Linked DNA regions of Homo sapiens: regions 2, 3, 4, 5 and 6 are each linked to region 1. Evidence: promoter capture Hi-C in 16 types of primary human blood cells and fetal thymus (Javierre and others, 2016). All regions are on one chromosome and are shown on one strand. Each heading gives the region's core, a stretch centred on a gene start or on the middle of the fragment in contact. The rest is flanking DNA. Distances are from core to core; before and after follow the strand shown. Region 1 holds the start of RWDD2B (RWD domain containing 2B). Region 2 holds the start of MIR155HG (MIR155 host gene). Region 3 overlaps MRPL39 (mitochondrial ribosomal protein L39). Region 4 overlaps JAM2 (junctional adhesion molecule 2). Region 5 overlaps GABPA (GA binding protein transcription factor subunit alpha). Region 6 overlaps APP (amyloid beta precursor protein).

Region 1 (3,864 bases), core at 489-2,988:
GTATGGTGGGGGAAAAAATCAGAACAGTGGTTACCTTTGGGGAGAACTGGTTGGGAACTAAGAAAGGGCATGAAAGAACTTTCTAGGGTGATGGTAACGTTCTATATGTTAATATGGCTTGAGTTCCATAGGCGTGTGCATTTAAAAACTGATGTGTATTTAAGGTATGCATTTCATTTTTACCTTAAAAAATCCTTAATTTGAACTCCAATGATGTGCATTAGAGGTACTTAGAAGCGTACTGTCTGCAGTTTACTTTTAAATGTATGAAAACAGATAGATTGATGAGGTATGTGACAAAGCTGGTAGAGTAAAATTCTGTACTCTCCAGGTCAGTGTTTTTCAACCTCAACACTATCAACATTTTGGACCAGCAAATTTGTTGTTGTCGGGGGATGTCCTGTTCATTGTAGGAAGTTGAGGAACATCCCTGTGCTCTACCTACCCCATGCCAATACCATCCTTCCAGTTGTGACAACCCAAAATGTCTTCAGACACTGCTAAATAGAGGGGAAATCCATCCTTCCCCTTCTCTTGAGGTCTGCTCCACTGTAAAATTCTCTCGACTTCGCTTTACACTTGAATTTTTTCATAATAAATGTTGGAGGAAAAAATAAATTATGACATTGAAAAACGCTCATGAAACACTATGCAGAAGACGTAGTTTATGAAGACCTACAATACATACTGTCGTATTTTTGTTTAAAAAAAAAAAGTGGAGGGGAGACCTAGCAGTGATATTTAGTATTGCTAAATGTCAATGTTTACAAATCTTATCTATGACATTTCTAAAATGAATATTATAAAGTGTATTGCATATAGTTGGATTGGGAAGAAAAACATTTCTAATTATTCTCCTGTCAGCATCTCCTTCAAACTACCCTTTTATTAACAGGGATAGATATGCATTCACACGGTTCCTCCCAGCTTGGTTAATGGGCAAGAACACCTAAGATAGCCAAGGCCACCATGCATCCAGGCTCACATCTCCCTAATTGCCCTCCTCCATGATTCAGGGACAAGGAGGATCACCATCGTGTGGGAAGATACTAGAAATGTAGAATTTGGAACCCCACCCCTACCTACGGAATCCTGATCTGCACTTCAACAGGATCCCCGAACTATTCCTAGGCGCGTTCGAATTTGAGGAACATTAACGGACCAATTCTTTGTCCCTGAAAAGTGCCCGTTATAGAGGCGGCCGCTGGGAAATGACAACGGGGTTGGCATGGAGAGGTATTAAGTAGAAAAACTCCGGCCGGGCACGGTGGCTCAGGCCTGTAATCCCAGCACTGTGGGAGGCCGAGGCCGGTGGATCACCTGAGGTCAGGAGTTCGAGACCAGCCTGGCCAACATGGTGAAACCCCATTTCTACTGAAAAATACAAAAATTATCTGGGCATGGTGGTGGGCGCCTGTAATCCCAGCTACTCGGGAGGCTGAGGCAGGAGAATCGCTTGAACCCAGGAGGCGGAGGCTGCAGTGAGCCGAGATCGCGCCACTGCACTCCAGCTTGAGAGACACAGCGAGACTCCGTCTCAAAAAAAAAAAAAAGGAAGAAAGAAAGAAGAAGAAGAGAACTCTGCGACTGAAAAGTACCTAGCAGGGACAACGCATTCCCTACGTCCTTCCAAGTGCAGACACCAACACCGGCGGACGCGGCTCCCAACAGGCGAGCCCCAGCTTCCGGTCCGCGGCCTTGGACGCGCATGCGCCGCATGCTTTTTTTTTTTTTTTCCGGTAGGTCGCCAGCTGAGGCGGTTTGTAAGTTTTGGGTCGCAGTATGCTAGAATTTTGAGGCTCCCTTCTGATGAAAATTGAGCTGTCCATGCAGCCATGGAACCCGGGTTACAGCAGTGAGGGGGCCACGGCTCAAGGTGAGTCTCGCCTCAGCTAGCGCCAGTGGTGACCGCCACGGGGGTTTCCCACGCTGCAGCGCCCAGTGCAACCCTTTGGGAACGTGCCCGGCATGGCGGCCCCGGTTCCCCTCACTGCATGCGCCCATCGGTCGGCTCGGTCCTCGGCGTTGCTTCCCGGCTTCTGCAGCCCTGCTCCAGCCGGGGACCTCGCCCCGGGGGCAATCAGGGTGCGAGGGCGGCTGCGTGCTGGGCTTTCTTCCTGAGAGCGTCTTGGCTTGGGTCGCGGGGTACCCTGCTCTGTTCTTCAAAAAAAAATCTGCAAGGAAAAGATATTATTCCACTCAGAAATCTCAAGTTTCAGTCTGCGTTCTCTTAAATATATTTTATTTTTTAAAAAAATAATAAAGGCGAGCTCTTACTATGTTACCCAGGCTGATCTTGAACTCCTGGGCTCAAGCAGTCCCCCTTCCTCTGCCTCCCAAAGTGCTGGGATTACAGGCGTGAGCAATCGCGCCCGGCCACAGTCTATTATCTTACAGCATTCGCTGAAATCTTGAATCATAAAATTATCTTGAGGGTTTTTTGGAAGGACTGAAATCTCTTAAGCGAAAATAATTTGGCAGATAAATGACCTGTGACATCACTCCCGTAGTTGTCCGTTCAAGAGTCCCTCCGTCCCGTTCTTCTTTGCTAATCCCATTTCATCTTCGATACCTCCAATTCAATAGCACCCTCTCCCAACTTTACTCACTCCCTGGGAGACTTTAAACAAATATATAGTTCCAAATAAGTGTTGACTCCCAAGATTATATATCTAGCTGAGTCTCTCGTAGACTTCAAAACTATACATCTAACTGCCTGCTAGACCTCTCTATTTAACAGGTGTCTTAGTAGGCACTTCATTACTTGTGTCTAAAACCAAGCTTCAGCTCCCCATGACCATCAACGTCTAAATAAATGGCAGATCCATACTTTCAGTACCTTAAAGCCCCGGAGTCATTCTTCCGTGTCTCATGTAATTCATCTGTAAATCCTGTTGCCTCTGTTCTCTGCATGTATCCAGAACCTGAAGCTCACCAACTTGACCACTATAATCCTATCAAAGCCACCATCATCTCTCCCTAGTTATTGCGGTGTCTATATCTGGTCACCCCACTTTTCCTTTCACTTTTCTCCATAGCAGCAAGTGTGGGGATCTTCATAAGTCAAACCTCTCTTGTAGCTCTTACATGTCAGTCGGGATAAAATTCAAAATTCTGGCCATGCTTTACTAGTCCCAACATAAACTGCCCCACATTTCCTTACTAAACTCTTCTATTCCCCGTGTCCTCAGCTCACTGTGCTCTGGCCAGCTGTTCTAGCACCCTCCTTCCTCAAGGCCTTTGAATATGCTGTTCGCTTTCCCTTGAACACTCTTGGCCAAGAAAAACACATGGCCTCCTTTTTCAGTTCCTTAAAGTCTCTTCCCTACAGTCACCTTAGGAGAAAGGCCTTTCCTGACAATGCTGTGTGCAGTCTCACCCCTGCTGCCTCATTGTTTCCCTTATCCTTGTTTTCTTTTTCAGGTTTCTTCATAGCAGTTATTCACTGGGTACAAAAATTCTTTTTTGTTTTTTTTTGAGACAGTCTTGCTCTGTTGCTCTGGCTGGAGTGCAGAGGTATGATCTTAGCTCACTGCAACCTCCGCCTCCCCAGTTCAAGCGATTCTCCTGCCTCAGCCTCCCTAGTAGCTGGGACTACAGGCGTGGGCGACCACACCTGGCTAATTTTTGTATTTTTAGTAGAGATGGGGTTTCATCATGTTGGCCAGGCTGGTCTCAAACTCCTGACCTTAGGTGATCCGCCCACCTCATCCTCCCAAAGTGCTGGGATTACAGGCGTGAGCCACCACCGCACCTGGGCTGGGCGTATAAATTTGTTTTTGATGTCATGGTATCCTCCCACCAGTAGAGTTGTTTTATTACTTTCATTCATTGTTATCTTAGTGCCAGTGCTTGAACGTAAGT
Region 2 (3,864 bases), core at 403-2,902, 3.5 Mb after region 1:
TGGTTAGGAAGCTGGGTCCTGTGGCCAGAGTGAGCTGACCCACTATGTGAGGAAACTTACTTATCACAGCCTAATAAGGAGTAGTCCTTGCAGCAGAAGTAATTACTAAATGTGCTTTGGTCATTTGACAGAAATCAGGGAGGCAGCAAGGAGTCATGGAAATGAGCCCAAACTGAGAGTCAAAACCCTGTGGTCTGCCGACACCCCCATCCCACATCCGTACCTAAAAGCAGGCTGTGCACTAGGGACCTAGTGACCTTACTAGAAAAAACTCAAATTCTCTGAGCCACAAGTCCTCATGGGCAAAATGTAGATACCACCACCTAACCCTGCCAATTTCCTATCATTGTGACTATCAAATTAAACCACAGGCAGGAAGTTGCCTTGAAAACTTTTTATAGTGTATATTACTGTTCACATAGATAAGCAATTAACTTTACATATACCCGTTTTTAAAAGATCAGTCCTGTGATTAAAAGTCTGGCTGCCCTAATTCACTTCGATTATACATTAGGTTAAAGCCATATAAAAGAGGCACTACGTCTTCGGAGAGATGAATGGATATTACAAGCAGTAATTTTGGCTTTGGAATATACACATAATGTCCACTTGACCTCATCTATTTGACACAAAATGTAAACTAAATTATGAGCATCATTAGATACCTTGGCCTTTTCAAATCACACAGGGTCCTAGATCTGCTGTGTGATGCTGGAAAAGTAACTTCACTTCTGTGGGCCTCAGCTCCTTAATTTTTAACATACTTTGGATTCTTATATCTTTGTCAGCTGTCAACTTCAGTGTTTTCAGGTTAAATTCTATCCATAGTCATCCCAATATACCTGCTTTAGATGATACAAACTTCAAAAGATCCGGCTCTCCCTCGTAAAACGTGGAGGACAGACATCAAGGGGGTTTTGTGAGTAAAGAAAGGCAACCGCTCGGCAAAAACGCACCCTGGCACAACAGGAGCGAATAAATACAGACGCTGATTGAGCGTTTGCTCCATCTTCACTTCTGTTAAATGAAGACATTGATATCTAAAATGCTATGAGTCTAACTTTGTAAAATTAAAATAGATTTGTAGTTATTTTTCAAAATGAAATCGAAAAGATACAAGTTTTGAAGGCAGTCTCTTTTTCCACCCTGCCCCTCTAGTGTGTTTTACACACTTCTCTGGCCACTCCAACAGGGAAGCTGGTCCAGGGCCATTATACAGGTACGTCCCCAACCATCCAAGGAAACTTTGCAAAGAAGCTCAAGTATTAGGTTTCGAACACCCCTCCTTCCCCCTGCCTCTGCCCGCGGGAATCCATCCAGCGCAATCTCTGGTCCCGGGCGAGGCGACACCACTGAGTCCCCAGGGGGCACCCGCAGGCGCGCGCGGGACCAGGCCGGGCTCCACGGCCACGTGCGCGCTGCCCCCGCCTTGCCTCGCCAGTTAACCCGGCGGTGACCCTCGCACCGAAGTCCCCCGGCGTCCCTGCCACGTTCAAGAGAGGAAAGGCGGGCGGGAGCGCGAGACTGAAGTCGGCGTACCTGCAGTGCCAGGAGCGTCTCCTTGGTTCCCCGCGCTTGCTCTGCGGGCGGCTCGGGGCTCCGCTATCCGCTCCCTTCCCGAGGCTGCAGGCGGCGCTGGGCCCGGGCTCGGCCGCGCACAGGAAGCCCGCGCCTGCGAACGTGCGACCCTTTTATAACTCACTTGTGACTCATAACCGACCAGGCGCCTTTTCTGCAACCCCCCCCCCCTTCTCCCCCCTCCTGCCTGTTCTTGGAACCTACAGCTTGAAAAACTTTTTTCTTTTTAAAGGAAAAGTCGAAAAAGCCCAGCGCCCGGGTAGTTGGTGTTTTCCCCTTTCCCTTTCTCGTGGGTCATTGCGTGTGTGTATTTTTTTTCTCTCAACACACGCCGTGTACTTTCCTGCACCGCGCCGCAAGGCTTGGGCTCCAACCTTTGTTCTTAAAGAAAAGGAAACGCCTTCAAATGACGGCCCAGACGTCGCCCGAACTTTCAGTCGGCTGGAGGGGGAAGTGGCGACTTCTTGCAACTGGGTGGCAGGAGTGTCTCTACTCTCTCCTTGCAGGGAGCCCGAGAGGAGCAAGTGGGAGGTTTTTCCTCCTGGACCGAATCAGCTGGAGACCAGCAGGTCCCTAAGAGAGGAAGAAATGGTCTTCAGGCGATCCTGGATTTCATCCCTACCTCATCACCCTTCAAGAGCCCGCGTTTGGTTTGGAATACGTAACTGGGCTTTGAGAACGTTTGTACTGTGTCTGGTACCCGCATTTATACTCGGGATGTCAAGATATAGGACTTAAAACTTCAAAAATTTTGACCTCAACAACATTCTCCCCCTGCCCTCCACTCCCATCTCCAGGACATATTCCTGGAGCATATGGGACTTCGGTCGTTTTAATTTTTGGTTTTGTCGCTTCTCTCTTTTCTCCCGGACCCTGCCACAAGGGGAACATTTTCCTGGAGCAGCCATTTGATTTTGGGGGATGGAAAGGAACAAATAGATCTAAAGCCTGGCAAGTTTATCCTACAAGCCTAGTCGAGTAACTCATTCATGGGTCTCAGTTCAATAAACGTTTAGACTTGAAGAAGAATAAGGAAATATGGGGAAGAGAAGGAGGACAGGAATAGATCTAGCCTCATCAACATGTGACTGGGGCCTTTTTGTAAGAAAGACGGGGCCACTGCTGGATTGCATTGCAAGTATCCAGTACTTGGACCTCCCTGTCAAGGGCACAAGACATTTTAGAATAGTTTGTATTAAACTGATGCCAGTTACATGTCAGAATACATGTCAGAGCTGGAAATCCCATAGTACTTAATTTACAGATGGCTCAGGTTGGTTAAGGAACTTGGGAGCATTTTAAAACCCTCTATTCTTAAGATACATGCTTTTTCTCTTATAATTCAAACAAGAATAATCATGATGATAACAACTAACACTTATAAAGCATTTACCATGTGCCAGATCCTGTCCTAACACTCCTTATATGCATTAACTCTTTCAGTCCTCACTATGATCATATGAGGGAGGAGCATTATAATCTCTATTTCCAGATGAGGAAACTGAGCACAGAGAGATTAAACATGTTACCTTAGATCCTAGTAAGTAGTCAAGCTGAGATTCAAACTCAGTTCCAACCCTGGAGGGCTGGCTCCGTAGTCCAGTCTCCCTGCTTTCCAGATCCATGTGACGTTGAGGAGCTGGGGAAGTTGTGCAGTGGGGCATGTGGCAAGGATGCATGGTCCCCACCCAGGTGGGGCACGTCCCTCTGCTGGTTACAGATGCCTACAATGCCTTTCTGAATTTCCCATTTCTCATTCTAGGTTGAACTATAAGAAATTGCCCATAGGCAATTCTAGGGTGACCTTTCATCCCCAGAATGACAAGTTTGTATAATGCACTTTAATAGAAACAGGAAATTGCTCAATCCTCCCTTCTCCCAGTGGTGGAAGTAATTTCAGGTCATGTGCAAACCTCCGCATTTTAGGTCCCAGTTTGAGACACCCAGAATAGTGGATGGATAAATGGGTTTTAGGAGTCAAATACACCTGCATTTTACACTAATTCTAGCTGTGGAATCTGAACGTTAAACTTTTTATGTCTCAGCTTCCTGTAAATGACAATAATGATGTCTCCCATCAGGGATTACTATAGACTGAATCATGTTCTCTTCAACTTTATATGTTGAAGCCCTGATCCCCAATGTTATCCCCATTTGGAGATAGGGCCTGTGAGGAGGTGATAAAGGTTAAATGAGGTCAAAAGGGTGGATCACTAATCCCATAGAGCTAGTGCTCTTATGAGAAGAGGAAGAGACACCAGAATTCCCTTTCTCTCAGAAATCAGT
Region 3 (3,864 bases), core at 589-3,088, 3.4 Mb after region 1:
CTGAGTTACTTTTGCATCTTTGTTAAAAATTAGCTGAGCATATTTATGTAGGCCTATTTTTGGGTCCTCTATTCTGTTCCATTGATCACATATGTTTAGCTCTCTACCAGTACCACCCAGTCTTGATTACTGTAGCTCTAAATAGGCTGTGAAATCAGGTAGAGTAATTCCTCCCTTGTTACTGTTTTTTAATCAAAATTGTTTTAACTCTTCTAGTCTCTTTGAGTTTCCATTTAATGTTAGGATAATATTTTCAATGTCAACAGAGTCTTCCTGAGATTCTGATAAGTCCATTAGACCTGTATAGCAGTTTGGGGAGAATTGACATCTTTAATATGTTGAGGTTTCCAGTCTATGAACTTACTGTATCTTCTTATTTATTTATATCTTCTTTCATCCCTCTCATTTTGTAAAATTTAGCACACCTCTCCTATACATTTGACTTTGACTTTTCTCCACATACCTGCTTCCTTTCCTAGCCTTCCCAATTTCAGAAAATGGGATCATCCTTTAACTCAAGCTTGTCCAACTCACAGCCCATGGGCTGCATGCAGTCCAGGACGGCTTTGAATGAGACACAAATTTGTAAACTTTCTTAAAACATTATGAGGTTTTCTTGCGATTTTTTTTTTTTTTTAGCTCATTAGCTGTCATTAGCGTTAGTATATTTTATGTGTGGTCCAGGACAATTCTTCTTCCAGTGTGGCCCAGGGAAGCCAAAAGATTGGATACCCCTGGTTTCCTTAGTTGTTTAAGGTAATCCTTGATTCTCTTTTCCCCTCATAGCCATGCCCCAGCCCATCCATCCGCAAGTCCTTTCAACTTTTAACTCTGAAACATATTCTGAATCTATGCACCTTATAACATCTCATCTACTACTACTTCCCTTATCCAAGTTCCTCTTTGTTTTCACTCACCTTCCTTGCTTTCACTCTTGCCATCTACAGTGCATTTTCCACTTAGTAGCCAAAGTGATCTTTTTAATACACAATCTGTTATGTACTTCCTCTGCCCCAAACTTTCCAATGGCTTCCCTTGAACAAATCCCAACTCTTTACCCTGTCTCACAAAGCCCTGCATTATCTGGTCCCTGCCTGCTTCTCTGACTTTATCTAACACCACTCCTTTCCTCACTCACTATATTCCAGCCACAGCTTAAGGTCTCTGCACCAGCAGTTCATTCCGCCTGAGTCAGGCATGGTTTTCCCTTTAAACATACCAGTCAGCTCTTTCCCTGGAAGGGTTTGTATGTTGATATTTATTAATTTTACCTTTTATTATAGATTTTATGAGCTCATTCAGTGTGGAGTAGTCACTGGCCTGCCCATATGTCTTGTTACCACTTTCAGTTGACCTAATAAAATTGATGTGGTCATGATACACTTTGCACAGTTTTCTTTAATGCATTCTGATAATCCTCTGCTACAGGAGGTTGTTATGGACTAAGGAAATTGAGTTTAAATTTTACTATTGTCTTGGGAGGCTGAGGCAGGAGAATTGCTTGAACCTGGGAGGCGGAGGTTGCAGTGAGCTGAGATCGCACCACTGCACTCCAGCCTGGGCGACAGAGTGAAACTCCATTTCAAAAAAAAAAAAAATTTACTATTGTCTTTGTTAGGTTTTACTTATTCTTTAGGGTAACTTGATGAATCCTCTGCTTCTGCCATTTCAGTGTGAAGATGTCACAGTTGGTTTTTAATGACTGTCTTCTTGTGATTGCTTATGATTTGAAGAATGACTTCTAGAATGTTGAAACTGGCTGTTTAAGGATTGAACCACAGTCTATGGGAAAGTAGGGCAGATTTTTGCTTCCTATTAGAAGAAATGCTTTCTATGATGGAAATGATTAAGATGGGCAAAAGTGAAAGAAGGGCACGTTCAATCCTTAAGCGTTTTTTTCTTAAATGCTCACTGCAACCTCTGCCTCCCGGGTTCATGCGATTGAAGAAAGCAAAAAAGCAGCTATCCCCATGTAGCACCTTTTTTTGCTACTATGATCCACTTTTATAACCACTTATCTAAATTAGTACTGCCTAGCTTTTTATTTATTTTGTTCTAAAAGCTATATAAAGACTCTGTCCTTTTTACTTTGACATTACTGCTTCATTTAGTTCATCGCAAATCTTTTCTTTTCAAGGCACATTTTACAATATGGGATAAGCTATTGGAAAGATCTCGGAAAATGGTAAGTGTTTTTGACAGCTATTGAGTACTCTTCTATAAAGAAATTCATCAAAATTAACCAATAACAACCAAAGGGGGGAAAAATGAAAGAAACAAAGAGAAAGGAAAAAAGTAAGTTGTCTCAATAGTCAAAGCAGTGTTGTGATTGTTCACTAGTGTGTTGGTAAGGGTAAAGTTGTAACTTGGCAGTTCTCTTTTGATTTTATTTGTTAATATCGTGAAAATGATATTGTAGAACTTGAAGAGAAATAAGAATATTACTATGTAATAGTAATAGTTCTTAATAGTTGTAATGGTATCAGTTAGGTCTTAGGATTTATTTTGTAAACTTAATGAATATTTAGAGGATTAAGATTTGTCAGGTGTATTTTAAAGCCGCCTTTAGCCATTAACAGTAAATGTGCAAATATCCTAATGTCCTGAAAAACCAGATTTGAATGTTTGTGTTTTTGTAGTTTATTCTTTGTCATTAGCATTTAGACTTAATGAGTAGGAATGATAGTATTTCTTTTCTTTTTTTTTTTGAGACAGAGTCTTGTTCTGTCTCCCAGGCTGGAGTGCAGTGGCGCGATCTCAGCTCACTGCAACCTCCACCTCCCGGGCTCAAGCGATTCTCGTGCCTCAGCCTCCCAAGTAGCTGGGACTATGGGTGCCCACCACTACGTCCAACTAATTTTTTTGTATTTTTAGTAGAGACAGGGTTTTACCGTGTTAGCCAGGATGGTCTCGATCTCCTGACCTCGTGATCCACCCCCCTCAGCCTCCCAAGGTGCTGGGATTACAGGCGTGAGCCACCGCGCCCGGCCCGGGTGATTGTATTTCTTGACCACAACTATTCCTGTTTCCTATTTCATAGGCTAAGTGTGCCTCTTTTACTTAGGTTATCTGATAGCTGTCCTGTGTAATCTGTCCTCATTAGGACTTCCTCCTTATCCTAATTTCCCACAATGCCACAAACACTGGTTAAGCTTGCAGGCACATTAAGCATCACACATTAAACTTATTTTCAAGTTTGCTTATTTCTTCATGATAGTTTTTCTTTCTAGACTCCATTTCCCATTCTCCTTCTATTTACTACGCAGTCATTCTTCACTACCTCGCCTGAGTCGTACCTCCTCCATGGAACAGTCTCAGAGTAATCTCTAACAAATAATTATTCATATAAGTTTGTGCTTGATTGTATATGTCCACATACTATTTTTTGATTGTTTTCTTTGCCAGTACATTTATTTTCTGTCTGTTAAGCCTTTCAGGATTTGTTATATTTGTGTAAGCCCAAATTTTGAACACAACATTAGCACATGAAGGGGTTACCCAAGAAATATTTATTGACAATTTTTCATAATGATATATAAACCTAGTCTTTATTAATGACTATGTAGATAGGAATTATTGTTTAGGGACTTCACCATAATGTTCTTGAGTAAGGGTTATATAATTTTTTTTCTCATGAGAAGAAATTACCTTTGAATGGATGGAGTAATTTTCTCTTTTTAGTTGGTCACAGTGATCATTTTAGATGAAGAAACTAAAGAAAAAATGTTCAGCATGTTTACTTGGAGTTAAGTAAAATTAAAAAAAATTTAAAAAGCTAAAGAATATTAAAGAAATAGTTTGGAAAATTAAAGAAGCAGTAGTAACTGAACACTTTAAAGGAATGAAAAATGTAGAAAAACGGCA
Region 4 (3,864 bases), core at 495-2,994, 3.3 Mb after region 1:
CTGGGTGACAGAGCGAGACTGCATTTCAAAAAAAAAAAAAAAAACCATAAGCAACTTTAGGACTCCAACTATAGCTCTTGGTAAATCTCTATTTTTATACCATCTTTAAGAAACTTTATAAATAGCACACTTGAAGTTGAAAATAAAGGATCATGAAATGGAGCTTTGAAACAGCCTGCTTTCAATCTCAAAGAAGGTAAACAGGTCCTTTGTTGACACACACTTAACTTGTTTTGAGAGCATTTTCTTGGTGGAAAGTAAAAAGACATTTTACACTCCAGTTTGTCTTAATTAGTACATTTTTTCAAACCTGGTCAAGTAAAAACTTAGCATATATTGAAAAGTAAACAAATATTGAAAGTATCACAAATGAAAGCTTTTAGTTTACCTTGAATTTCTTAACCAACTGTTAACACTAAAAGTGTTCCAAAAAGAGAAAACAAAAGATGAAAAATTAAATTTTAAAATTTGAAAGTTGGAAAAATATTTGAAGAGCTTCTTAAGAACTGTGTGGAAATTCATGTCTAATTGCTAAAAGACTGGTATGAGAAAAATAGTTTCCATCCAGCCTTCATTCATGGAACAACTTTGTAACTTCACATATTAGATAACTATTATAATTACATATTTCAGAATACAATCATTTATTAATATTTGAACTAAATTTATGGGGAAATTTTATAGTTAAATACTAAATTTGCTCTTTGACAAGTGTTCCTTTGATTTTTAAAAATTCATTTATCACATTAAATACCAACCACGTTAGATGCTGTTAAATTCTTTGGGTCTTATAAAGTTGTGTAAAACATGGTTCTTTTCTCAAAATGCTTCCAGATTGGTAGGGGTGTCAAACATGTTCATTCCTATTATGGGGTAGAAACCAGTAAGTGAATCAAGGGTTACGGAAATTCAGAGAAGAAAGAGTTTCCAGCAGGGGAAATGAGAGAAGGCTGTCCTAGAGGGGGTGGAATTTGACCTGTCTCTTAATAAGTAGATAGAATATACAAGTCTTGTGGTTAGGAGAATTAACATTCCAGGTGGATAGGGTGTTATAGGTAAGTGTATAGAGGAGGGGGAAATGGGTTAAGATAAAATGACCATAGCTCAGTTTAATGGGTACATGAGGCAACCGAAGAAGTTAGTAGAACATATAGCTGAATACGTAGGCTGTGGCAATATGATGGGATATGTCTGTGATGGGTGGGAAACCTTGAATTCCAGGCTGAGGAGTTTAGATTTTGTGATAGACTAGGTAAAGGAAGAGTGAAAGGGTTTAGCCAGGGGAAAGGAGAAGGGAGTTGACATGGTTCGAGAGAAATGGGGCAAATTGATGGATGGGGTGGGGGGAAGAAGAGATTAGAGGGAAAAGGAGCCTTTGGAACTGGAGAGATTGACGTTGTGACTGAGAGGGTACTGGAGGGTGGAAGTTCCCGGAGATAAACGTTGAGATGCTATTGAAAGCCTGAGATAAAAGGATGAAAGTAGTGACTGAAGAATCAAATAAGACAATGAATGATGTAGTCAGTGAATAAATGGGAGGCTAAAGATGGAGAGATTTAGAGATAGGAGGGGGCAGTGGTGGTGATAGGATTTAAATGCATTCATCCTGGTTAGCCTCAATATTTTTCAAAATAATATTAGAGATTTGGGCATCTTCGGAGAATGAGAGGAGAGTGGAAGAGAATGAAATGGCCCACTGTGATATTTAGACTGGGTTAGGGGAAAGGCATGACAAAAAGGTATTTTGTCTGGCAGTGAGACCAGGAAGGCGATGAGGGGCCAGAGATAACTGGGGGTGAAAGGAAAGTGTGACAGAGAAGCGCACAAGAATTTAAAAGGACTGGGCTCGGCTGGGCACAGTGGCTCACGCCTGTAATCCCAGCACTTTGGGAGGCCGAGGTGGGCAGATCACAAGGTCAAGAGATCGAGACCATCCTAGCCAACTTGGTGAAACCCCATCTCTACTAAAACCACAAAAATTAGCTAAGCATGGTGGAGCGCGCCTATAGTCCCAGCTACTCGGGAGGCTGAGGCAGGAGAATTGCTTGAACCCTTGAGGTTGCAATGAGCTGAGATCGCGCCACTGCACTCCAGCCTGACGACAGAGCGAGACTCCGTCTCAAAAAATAAATAAATACATAAAATTTAAAAATAAATAGATAAATAAAAGGACCGGGCTTAGGCCTATAGTAATGCCAGCAGTTTCGGAGGCCGAAGAGGGAGGAGCGCTTGAGTCAAGGAGTTTGAGACCAGCCTGGCGACGTGGCAAGACCCCCCTTCTACAAAAATATAATAAATAATTAACTGGGCATGGCACACACCTGTGGTGTCACCTATTTGGGAGGCTGAGCTGGGGGAATCACTTGAGCCTGGAAAGTCAAAGCTGCAGTAAGCCGTGATCGCGGCACTGAACTCCAGCCTGGGTGACAGAGCAAAACCCCATCTCAACAATAACAGCAAAGAATTTAAAAGGAAGTCAGCCTGGGGGTAGAGAAAAACATGGTGTGTGAAACATCCTGGATCAGACTGATCTGGGTCCCCACAGACCCTGATTCCTCACTCCTCAGCTCCATGAACTTGACAAGTCAGTAACTCTTGTTTCCTCATCTGCAAAATGATGACATTACCCACTTTATAGTATCGCTGAGATGAATGAGATTTTCTACATCCTCACCCCCATCCATCCCCACCTCTGACATATATAAAGTGTTCAATAAATAGTTGTTGCTTTTTATTTTCAGAGCATTTTTCTCAGCATTTGAGAAGTTGGCAGCCATCCAGAGATGATGACATTCTAATCTTAAGCAGCTAACCAGCAGCTAGCCTTGTAGCTACAGAAGGTAAGAGGGTGTAGTTTCCTGGGTTTTATGAATAACAATAGGTGGATGACTCTTTCCCTGCACTGTTATATGGGGCTAAAAAGTTTAACAAGTTCAGCTATTTTTATTAGTGTAGACTTTAATCGAACAAAGCCACCTGTGGAAAAAGGAAGTTCTTTGCAAAGTTGTATTGAAAAGCAATCAATTGGTCCAGACTTAGGTCAAACCTCCAACTAAAAATAAATTAAATCTAGTTACAACAGCAACAATAATTAAAACAAAACAAAGCTTGCTAATAAGATTTTAAAGCCCTAATCTTTACACAACACAATTCACTGCAGGAAAATAAAGTCAAAATGCTGTAAGAATTACAATGGGATTTTACCAGTTGTTAGTGTTCAAGTTCCTCAAGTAAACACAAATGCAAATACAAGTCTGGACACCAGTGACCCACAGATACATATATATACTTTTAATAGGAAATTAGTGCTCAATACTCTGCCCTTTGTGTGGGGGAAAACATTCTTTTATACAAGGATTTTTACCTAGCTATTACAATAGTTTAAGGTAATGTACAATATATATTTGACACAGAGAGTGTTATTAGATGTTCGCACTGCATAAAATGAATCCTCTAGCCTTTGATGTCTTAAAAAGAAGTTTTACAACTATTAGTGAAGCTAAGGCACTACATATTTTCCTTCCACAATATGGATTTGTGTCATTTAAACTGAAGAAGTTGATCTTGTGTGATGACAGGTATGTCTGAAGAGGCGTCTTTCAGAGTCATCTATCCTCTTGGCATGCCAATGCAAGAGGAAAGCATTCCTCAAACCAAAGAAATCTTCCAACCAAAACATAGGTAACATTTAGCCTGATTTCTTACAAAAGCTTGTAGACAGGTGTTTTTTTCTGTACTTCACCACCATGAGTTGGGAATCTATGCCTGTGGGCCAAATCTTGTCTGTGCCTGCTGTTTTTGTAAATAAAGTCTTATTGGAACACAGACATGACTACTTGCTTGTTTTGTCTGTGGCTGCCTTTG
Region 5 (3,864 bases), core at 672-3,171, 3.3 Mb after region 1:
TCAACAGGAGTTCCAGCAAAAAGAACACAGGTATTTATCAAAATAATGCAGTAAGAACATCCAGAACTGAAGGCTACAATTATCAAGATCAGGGCTGTCCAACAGAAATACAATGCAGACCATTATGTAATTTTAAATTTTCTAATAGTTACATTTAAAAAGTTGGTCAAATACATCTTAATAATGAATTTATTTTAACTTAATGTTCCAAATGTTATTTCAACTGGTAATTAATATAAAAAATTAGAAAAGATTTTATACTTTTTCTTTTAATGGGTATTTTTACATTTACAACCCATCTTAATTTTGACCAGAGACACTTCAAGTGCTGACGTGTGATTAGTGGCTACAGTACTGGGCAGCGGAGGGACAGACTGAAATTCTACATTAGCTGTCTGGTTCCATAGCTCTCTTTCAGTTCCATGGGTAAGCTCTCTCATTTACTGTGTATCTTTTAGGTTTGGTTTAAAGAAAGAAAAAAAATGTCCTAGGGAAAACAGTGGTTCTACAATACAGCCTTTCTGTCATCAGCCCTGCTCCCCAGGTACAACCTTGTCTCTAAAAATAAAAAATAAAAAAAGGACAAAAACCCGACAATACTGTTTCATTTACAAATACACTCAGGTCCCCGCCAACTCTTGGAAGATCAGTATTATTTATTTGTTACCCCAGCATTCTTCCTCATCTGCCCCCATTTCTAAGATATCTATTTCTTATAATTCTGTTTTGTCTCGCCAACTCTAGTTACTTCTGTCTAAATTTAAGAATAATCCTCTGATCATCAAATTTAATAGATATCAGTCAGCATTCTTTGACTTTCTCAGCAGCATCTGAGAGTCTTGACCATCCAAACTCTCCCCTCAATTTCAGTGACACTATACATATAAGTTATTACTTTCTTTCTGTCTCTTCAGTTATTTCTTGTCTCCCTTTTCTCCAACCCTAAATGTTTACAGGGTCAAGTGTATATGCCTTTAGTTGTGTGTTCTTTTCCATTTCTCGCTTTCCATCAGGGACTACGTAGACTTTTATAGCTTCAAATATAAATTCAGTGGGAATGAGTCTCATATAACATCTTTGTCTCCAGCCCAAATCTTATATAACTGAAACCATTTTCTGGCTAACCTCCAGCTGAATATAAACTTCCACATCAAAATCAAGTGCTATCCACCTTCTCTTGAAAAAAACATTTCCTATACCAGACTTCTCTACTTCCCCAACTGGGCTTTTGAAAGCATGCTCTTCATAGTGCACCATCTTAATTAAGCCCAGCATTTAACATGGTGCCTGGTGTACGGTAGTGTTCACTAAATATGTAATGATGATGGAACCAATTTTTATCAAGATTATTACTGTTTTAGTCACCAAGATGAAGCTTGAGAAGTTAGATCAATACTTGTATCTTCCCTCTCTACCCTCATAAAATCTGTCAATCTGCTCAGTCCTATCACTGTTTTCATCCACTTTTTCCTTGCTACTCCCAAAGAAATCATCTGGAGTCTGGGCTAATGTAGACATTATCATCCAGTCACAACTATAATAATATGCTCCTGTTTTCCCTTCACTTAGTCTCTACCTGTTCCAACTTATGCCATATATTGCCACCATATTCATTTTTCAATTATCATTTTCATCAATCAAAAACAGTTCTGTAATGCTACAGAGTAACTCCTTAACCACTCCATTTTCTCACTACTCATGCATACCCCCAGGTCTAAGCTTTGCACATAACATTTCCTGTCTTAAATGTCTTTCTCTGCCCAATGGTATCTTATTTATAATAAACTCTTTTCAGCTTTCCCTCAGGGCAACTATGATCTCTTTGAGATTCCAATAGCATACTTCTACAAGAGTTACTGGCAGTTTAAAAACATGTTACCTTTTATGGCAATCATCTCTTTTCATCTATCTTCTCTCTCTTCAACTACACTCTCAACACCCTAAGAGCAGAAATTTTTTAGACTTCTTTGTATTTCCTGCACGCAGGACAGAATTTGTCCACCACATGAGCTTAAATGTGCGTTACAATTAAAAGAGAGATACAGAAAATCAACATTCATCCTAATAACTCTACATGTAAAATAGATTATAACTTACCCTAGTGTCTTCTATGTCAAGCTTAATTCCTATTATTCTACCCAATATAGAATTATGCATTTTATTACCATAGGGTATCCCAAGGCGTTCTTGTTCTTTCCTATAGCCTTCCAGTGCAGCAGCCCATCTTGTCACTTGTTCTGAAGTTTCATCTGAAATGGTTGTGATGTGTTTTGTGCCATCAAGAGTTATCACTTGAGCTTCTTCAACAAGATGTGCTTCTGATTCAGCATGGTGGGCATCTGGATCAATAACAACCTCAACAGTGTCCGCAGGTTTAACAATTTCAAGGATGTTTAACTTTGGTTCAATTCCTGAACAGTGGATAAAAAAAAATTGTAAATCTAAATGAAAACGCAGAAGTCACCAAAAAATAATTTAGTTTATATGTTCCCAAATGGTAGAGAAAAACTACATCGAATAAAGCAAATGTAGTAAAAGTTAACATTTGGGGAATCTGGGTGAAGGATATTCAAGAATTCTTTTACTAGTCTTGCAACTTTTCTACAAGTTTAAAATAATTTTATAAAAAATAAGACACACACACAAACCCTACCTATAAACATCATTAGAAAAAAAGAAGTACCAGTTCTTACCACAATAAAATAAATAGATAAATAAAAATAAAAATTACCAATACGAAACAATAAAAATTAGACTAGGCAGAGTATAAATGAGCAGCTACCTATCCTTGGAATTTTAAAAAATCCTTCTAAGCAAATTAAAATTATTATTTACTGACTCAGTTTTTCTTTTTAAAGGACAAAGTAGATGTGTTAAAAATTATGCCAAATTTACTAAATTAAATTAACCATTAAATTCTAAATTTCATTTTAAATGAGATGAAGAAAAACCCAAATCCTGAATATTTTAAGCTCCTAGTATAAAGGTGTTAAGAACTGTAATTCCTATGGAAAAAATAAAAAATAAAAATAAATAATTTATTAATACAAAGGCTCCTCAACTATCCAGAATTAAATCAAAATTCTGATTTTGATTTAATTCTGGATAGTTTAAAACACATTTAAACTATTAAATTATAATTTGATTATACCTAATTAAATTATAATTAAGCCAAGAAATTATGCCATAAAAACAGTTATTTCATTATGTGTGCAGTACTCTCTATAAGATATACTTTTATTTATCTATTCAAAATGGAATTAGCCCTTTACGAAATAACCTCAGACTAAAATGACAGCTCTAAGACACTGTCATATTACATAACTGCTTCTGTTTCTTACTGAATCTATTACAATCTATATCAAAATTCAATCAAAGTACAGCTTAAAGAAAAAGCACAACTCAACTTCGATCTTCTGTGAAAACCAGTATTGCAAGAAACTACTACTATCATTCTCAGGTAGTTTAAAGAGAATCATTTTTCAAATATACATGATAAAAACAATCAGAATCAAAAATATTTTTTGTTAAAATCTATTTCCTAATCCTTCATCTAGATTTCATACTTTAATGGCTTTAAGCGAACTCTTCTTAAACATACTTGCATCAAGAGGTCACTAGGCTTTTAAAGATAAAAACTACTAATTTATTTCCTATTCCCAATAATCAGTCCTGAGGGAATTAAGGATCAGAAGTACGTAACTACCATTGTCAGAGTCTGAAGAAAAATGTGGTTTGTGAAACATAATTGTGAACAATATATGTTCAGAGATGAAATTATTCTAAATTTTAAAAAGCTAAAATTCAACCTACCAAAAACAGTTTCCTAATTTTCTTTTCTAACTTGGGTACTTATACAAGTTT
Region 6 (3,864 bases), core at 875-3,374, 3.1 Mb after region 1:
GAGCACTTAAGACGAAATGTAATTGTTGCTGAAAGAATTAGAATCTGATAGCTTAGAAAGAACTTAATTAAATTTCAGAGTAAAATAAATACAGTTTAGCAATGGCCTTTCTCCTAGAAAAATATAATGTCTCTTACAGTTCAGTTACTCCTTGGCTTACAAAATAGTGGTTAAATTTCCTGTTTTTCTCATTTTGATTTCGTATGTTACATGTTACTGGTGATGGGATTATCTGTGTGACATTACCTCTGGTCTTCAAAATGTACACGTAGCAATGTAGTCTCACATATGCCCCTTGGGTGCGAAAAGAGAAGGACCTAACTTAACCTGACAGACCTCAAATCTGTTCTCTTTCTATAGCAGAGTACTCCTATTTAAAAAGAAAATGTTGAGTAAGGAGGACAGTCATCATATATGTCGAGAATGTTAAATGCTCTTGTGGAAGTGAAAAGCAGCCGATCTAAGTAATTACCCATTAAGAAAGGAGTAGGAGAAATGTTTAGAAGGCAGACCTGCAAAAAGGTGACTCACAGTACGTTCACATGACCGGATGCATTAGTGGAACCTCTAACCCATCGCCAATGGAAGAAGCAGTGTTTTGCACAAACTTGAAAAAGAGTTTTTCATTTTCCTCCCACAGCCTCGTCACGTGTTCAATATGCTAAAGAAGTATGTCCGCGCAGAACAGAAGGACAGACAGCACACCCTAAAGCATTTCGAGCATGTGCGCATGGTGGATCCCAAGAAAGCCGCTCAGATCCGGTCCCAGGTAAGCGTGGGGTATAATCATCTTCTGCAGCTTTGACAATCCAGGATTCTTGCTTCTTGGGTTGGTGACAGGATCCCACGCATTCTCCGAGCACCTATAGGTGTTTTCCCTATGGCAAGAGCTCTTTAACTTCTGGTAAATTCTAAAAGCTTGTCTTAGAGCAATATGTGGTTTGGCATTTTCTGAGTTATGAAAATAACAAATGTAAAAATCTTAGTCTACTGCTAACTGATTGCTAAGGAACTGATTAAAACCAATGACTAAAATGAGAAAAACAAAAGTTGTATAAACTAAAATCTTGAAAACTGGTTCAACTGAAGTATGGCAGGCAATCATAAACCTACTGGAATGTTGAGATTTCATGTGAGCCTAAATGAAGCCCAGTAATAATGTATTTTATACTCCCCGGTTCCCAAAGGCTGAAAACTGGGATCTACCTTAGGAAATGTGAAATTTTACATTTTCTTGAATGAAAGAGTTAAATATATATAGCATGAAATAGCCAATCAAATTGAAATACGTTGTTTTCTAGGGGGAAATTTGCAAAGAAATGTATTTAGGCATGAGGGTCCTGTTAAGAGAGCCTCAGTATTAGGAATCAGAGGTGGCAGAGGTAGCCTTTTTAATTGGCTGTTATAAGCATACAAGATAATGGTAAGTTTCAAGATCAAGTCTTAAACCTGAGCTCAAAAAGTTAGAGAACAGAAATAGGAGAACAAGAAAAATAAAGTTGCCCTTTCAGTTCAACCTTTTTAACAGTAGCAGTGTTTTGTCAGTTTTCTTTTGGAAGTTTGTATCTACCTGCAGTGCTTGGTAAGAAAAATAACCTGGGCGACAGAGCGAGACTCCGTCTCAAAAAAAAAAGAAAAAAAGAAAGAAAAAGAACCATTCCTACCCCCAGACATTGTTGACCTGGAGTTGTCATCCTTTGATGCAGGTTATGACACACCTCCGTGTGATTTATGAGCGCATGAATCAGTCTCTCTCCCTGCTCTACAACGTGCCTGCAGTGGCCGAGGAGATTCAGGATGAAGTTGGTAAGTAAGCTGTTCTTTTGATGCTGCACATGGACATGTATTTTCCCCCAGAGGAAAATTGAGGAAGTGAGTTATCTGTTTGAGGAATATGGAAGTTAATAGAACAGCTTGCCTTTTACGATGAAACTGTCAGGCTGGAACTAGCTTACTAGCCTTAGCAATTGAATCAGTTCTTACCTCTCCATACTTGTAAGACTGGAGGAATGTCGCCTGACTTAGGGTATAGTTTTGTAATAATTGGACACTTGTTATTGAATTATACGTGGCAGCATTTTTTCTAATTTGCCCAATCTTGTTATGGCTCTCAAATTATGATGCTTTGGTACTTTACAATTAATGGGGAAAAAAACTCATTCTTCATCTTTTGAGTGTCACGATTGTTCCATCTTACAAATGAAAAAGCTCAAACTTAAAATTTGAGTAACTTACTGGCCTGTGTCACATGCATTATAAGTAGCACAGCCAAAACACATAACTGTGACTTGTGACTTTGAGGTTATTGTTATATTCAGTAAGTCACAATTCTCTTTGATGGCTGAGCAGGGAAGCCATGAGTGTTCTCTGAACCACATCATTGTTTAAACTTAAAAGATAGTGGGCTATTAAACTTATATTCTGAAATAATTGTACTCTCACAAGAACTTGGAAAAATAGTACAGAGAGGTCTCATGCATCCATCACCCACATGCCTCACCAGTGACATCTTACGTAACTATAGTCCATTATCAAAACCAGGAAACTGACCTTGTGTGCCCACTGTCTTTTATGTCCCTAGTTTTCCTAATGACTAATGATTTCATTTAAGATCTCTCATTTCTGTTTCTCTTGGAAAGAGAATAAAATACCACATGAGTCTCTGTCAGCTGCCAAAATGCCCATAACTGTTTAACTTACTTCACAAAGGTACATAGATGACGATTATGTTGGTGCATCTTTCAATATAAGCATATGTACCTATACTGGAGATTTAGTGTGTAGTCTACCAACATATAAGCAATATGTATCTGGCATATCCTTCCCCATAAAGAATCCTACCCTTTGTTAATTGGGTTGGAAATAGATACAGGTTATCATCTGGAATCAGAGCACCCAGGATGTTGTAGATGGATGTACCCATTACAGTAAGTCCGACTTTGAAGTGCCTGAAACACCGCTCAAGGGAACAGCTGGCCCTCACTTTTTCCCATTTTATGCCAGTGTTATTCTGCTCATTCTTTCCTGATTTATGTGGCCTTGTAAATATTGTTTGTATTGCTGTGAAATATTTGGCATGTGTCAAGTGATGATGTTCTGTTCAGTACTGCACATTAATGGACGGAATCTGAAATTATACTTTGAGCTACATAACTTGCAGAAGAAACTTCATATGTCAGGGAGGTGCAGTGTCCCAGAACTTTGGGAGGCCAAGGTGAGCAGATCACCTGAGGCCAGGAGTTCGAAACCAGCCTGGCCAACATGGTGAAACCCCCTCTCTAATTTAAAAAAGAAGAGAAAAAAAGCAACTTCATAGTGTGCCAAGCTTTTGTTCAGAAGGAGCAACTCAGTGTTGAGCAAGAATTTATGAAGATAGTGGAGGTGGAGTTTTTAGTCTACACCATGAATTGAGAACAGAGATCTCCAATTAATTTTTCACTGTATCAAGTTTCTTTAGCAAACAAATATACTTTTCAGGTATACTTGGAGAATAGACATCAGTAAGGAACCTTTAAAATACTATGTATTAAATAAGTGTAAAGAAGTTCTCCAAAAAGTTGTAGAAGGTACAAAATGAAATAATTTATCAGTCTTAATGAACTGAAGCTAAAATCTTCTAGAAAACATGGTTTGTTTGTTTGTTTGTTTGTTTTTTACAGCTATCTTAAGCCTGTTTTCACATGTGACTTCAGTTGAAGTGGCATAGGTAATAACTATAGGGAAATAAGCCATTACAAAGGACTAAAAAGTTGATGACCAATATTCCACCCTCACCCAGCAATTATTGTTGACTCTTTATAATTAAATTATTAGAACTTTTTATTTGGCACTATACTACTGAAAACATTAGCCACTAATTAGTCA

What was found. Contacts are between HindIII fragments. The CHiCAGO score rates a contact against its expected background, and 5 or more counts as called.
Region 2: a contact is called between the fragment with the promoter of MIR155HG here and the fragment with the promoter of RWDD2B in region 1, in 9 of 17 cell types (non-activated CD4 T cells, activated CD4 T cells, total CD4 T cells and 6 more). The highest score is 11.0, in non-activated CD4 T cells.
Region 3: a fragment that was not itself captured here is called in contact with the fragment with the promoter of RWDD2B in region 1 in 4 of 17 cell types (total CD4 T cells, activated CD4 T cells, naive CD8 T cells and 1 more); the score reaches 8.9 in total CD4 T cells.
Region 4: a fragment that was not itself captured here is called in contact with the fragment with the promoter of RWDD2B in region 1 in 5 of 17 cell types (naive CD8 T cells, total CD8 T cells, non-activated CD4 T cells and 2 more); the score reaches 13.4 in naive CD8 T cells.
Region 5: a contact is called between a fragment that was not itself captured here and the fragment with the promoter of RWDD2B in region 1, in 7 of 17 cell types (total CD4 T cells, total B cells, fetal thymus and 4 more). The highest score is 12.9, in total CD4 T cells.
Region 6: a contact is called between a fragment that was not itself captured here and the fragment with the promoter of RWDD2B in region 1, in 1 of 17 cell types (M0 macrophages). The highest score is 5.2, in M0 macrophages.

What each region holds. Positions count from the first base shown.
Region 1 is chr21:29,017,223-29,021,086 of GRCh38, reverse strand. It overlaps RWDD2B (RWD domain containing 2B), which reads left to right and starts at 1,738. Exons shown (of 5, transcript NM_016940.3): 1 at 1,738-1,876. The coding sequence starts at 1,810. LOC124905005 (a long non-coding RNA gene) reads right to left here and starts at 3,501. Exons shown (of 2, transcript XR_007067836.1): 1 at 2,840-3,501; 2 at 1-2,174. RefSeq lists an enhancer at 1,648-1,897. The HindIII fragment of the contact is 4,408 bases long and covers 1-2,783 here.
Region 2 is chr21:25,559,933-25,563,796 of GRCh38, reverse strand. It overlaps MIR155HG (MIR155 host gene), which reads right to left and starts at 1,652. Exons shown (of 3, transcript NR_001458.3): 1 at 1,540-1,652. RefSeq lists silencers at 1,308-1,587, 1,598-1,687 and an enhancer at 2,068-2,117. The HindIII fragment of the contact is 13,141 bases long and covers 1-3,864 here.
Region 3 is chr21:25,587,156-25,591,019 of GRCh38, reverse strand. It overlaps MRPL39 (mitochondrial ribosomal protein L39), which reads left to right. Exons shown (of 10, transcript NM_017446.4): 9 at 2,138-2,185. Among named protein-coding and RNA genes, the nearest start is that of LINC00515, 5.9 kb to the right of the region's middle. The HindIII fragment of the contact is 2,632 bases long and covers 523-3,154 here.
Region 4 is chr21:25,716,637-25,720,500 of GRCh38, reverse strand. JAM2 (junctional adhesion molecule 2) reads right to left here. Exons shown (of 10, transcript NM_021219.4): 10 at 2,939-3,864. It overlaps LOC124905002 (a long non-coding RNA gene), which reads left to right. Exons shown (of 2, transcript XR_007067827.1): 1 at 1-2,840. Among named protein-coding and RNA genes, the nearest start is that of ATP5PF, 16 kb to the left of the region's middle. The HindIII fragment of the contact is 2,731 bases long and covers 379-3,109 here.
Region 5 is chr21:25,750,536-25,754,399 of GRCh38, reverse strand. It overlaps GABPA (GA binding protein transcription factor subunit alpha), which reads right to left. Exons shown (of 10, transcript NM_002040.4): 5 at 2,166-2,411. Among named protein-coding and RNA genes, the nearest start is that of GABPA, 17 kb to the right of the region's middle. The HindIII fragment of the contact is 399 bases long and covers 1,722-2,120 here.
Region 6 is chr21:25,952,532-25,956,395 of GRCh38, reverse strand. It overlaps APP (amyloid beta precursor protein), which reads left to right. Exons shown (of 18, transcript NM_000484.4): 12 at 641-769; 13 at 1,707-1,806. Among named protein-coding and RNA genes, the nearest start is that of APP, 220 kb to the left of the region's middle. RefSeq lists an enhancer at 533-1,732. The HindIII fragment of the contact is 2,407 bases long and covers 921-3,327 here.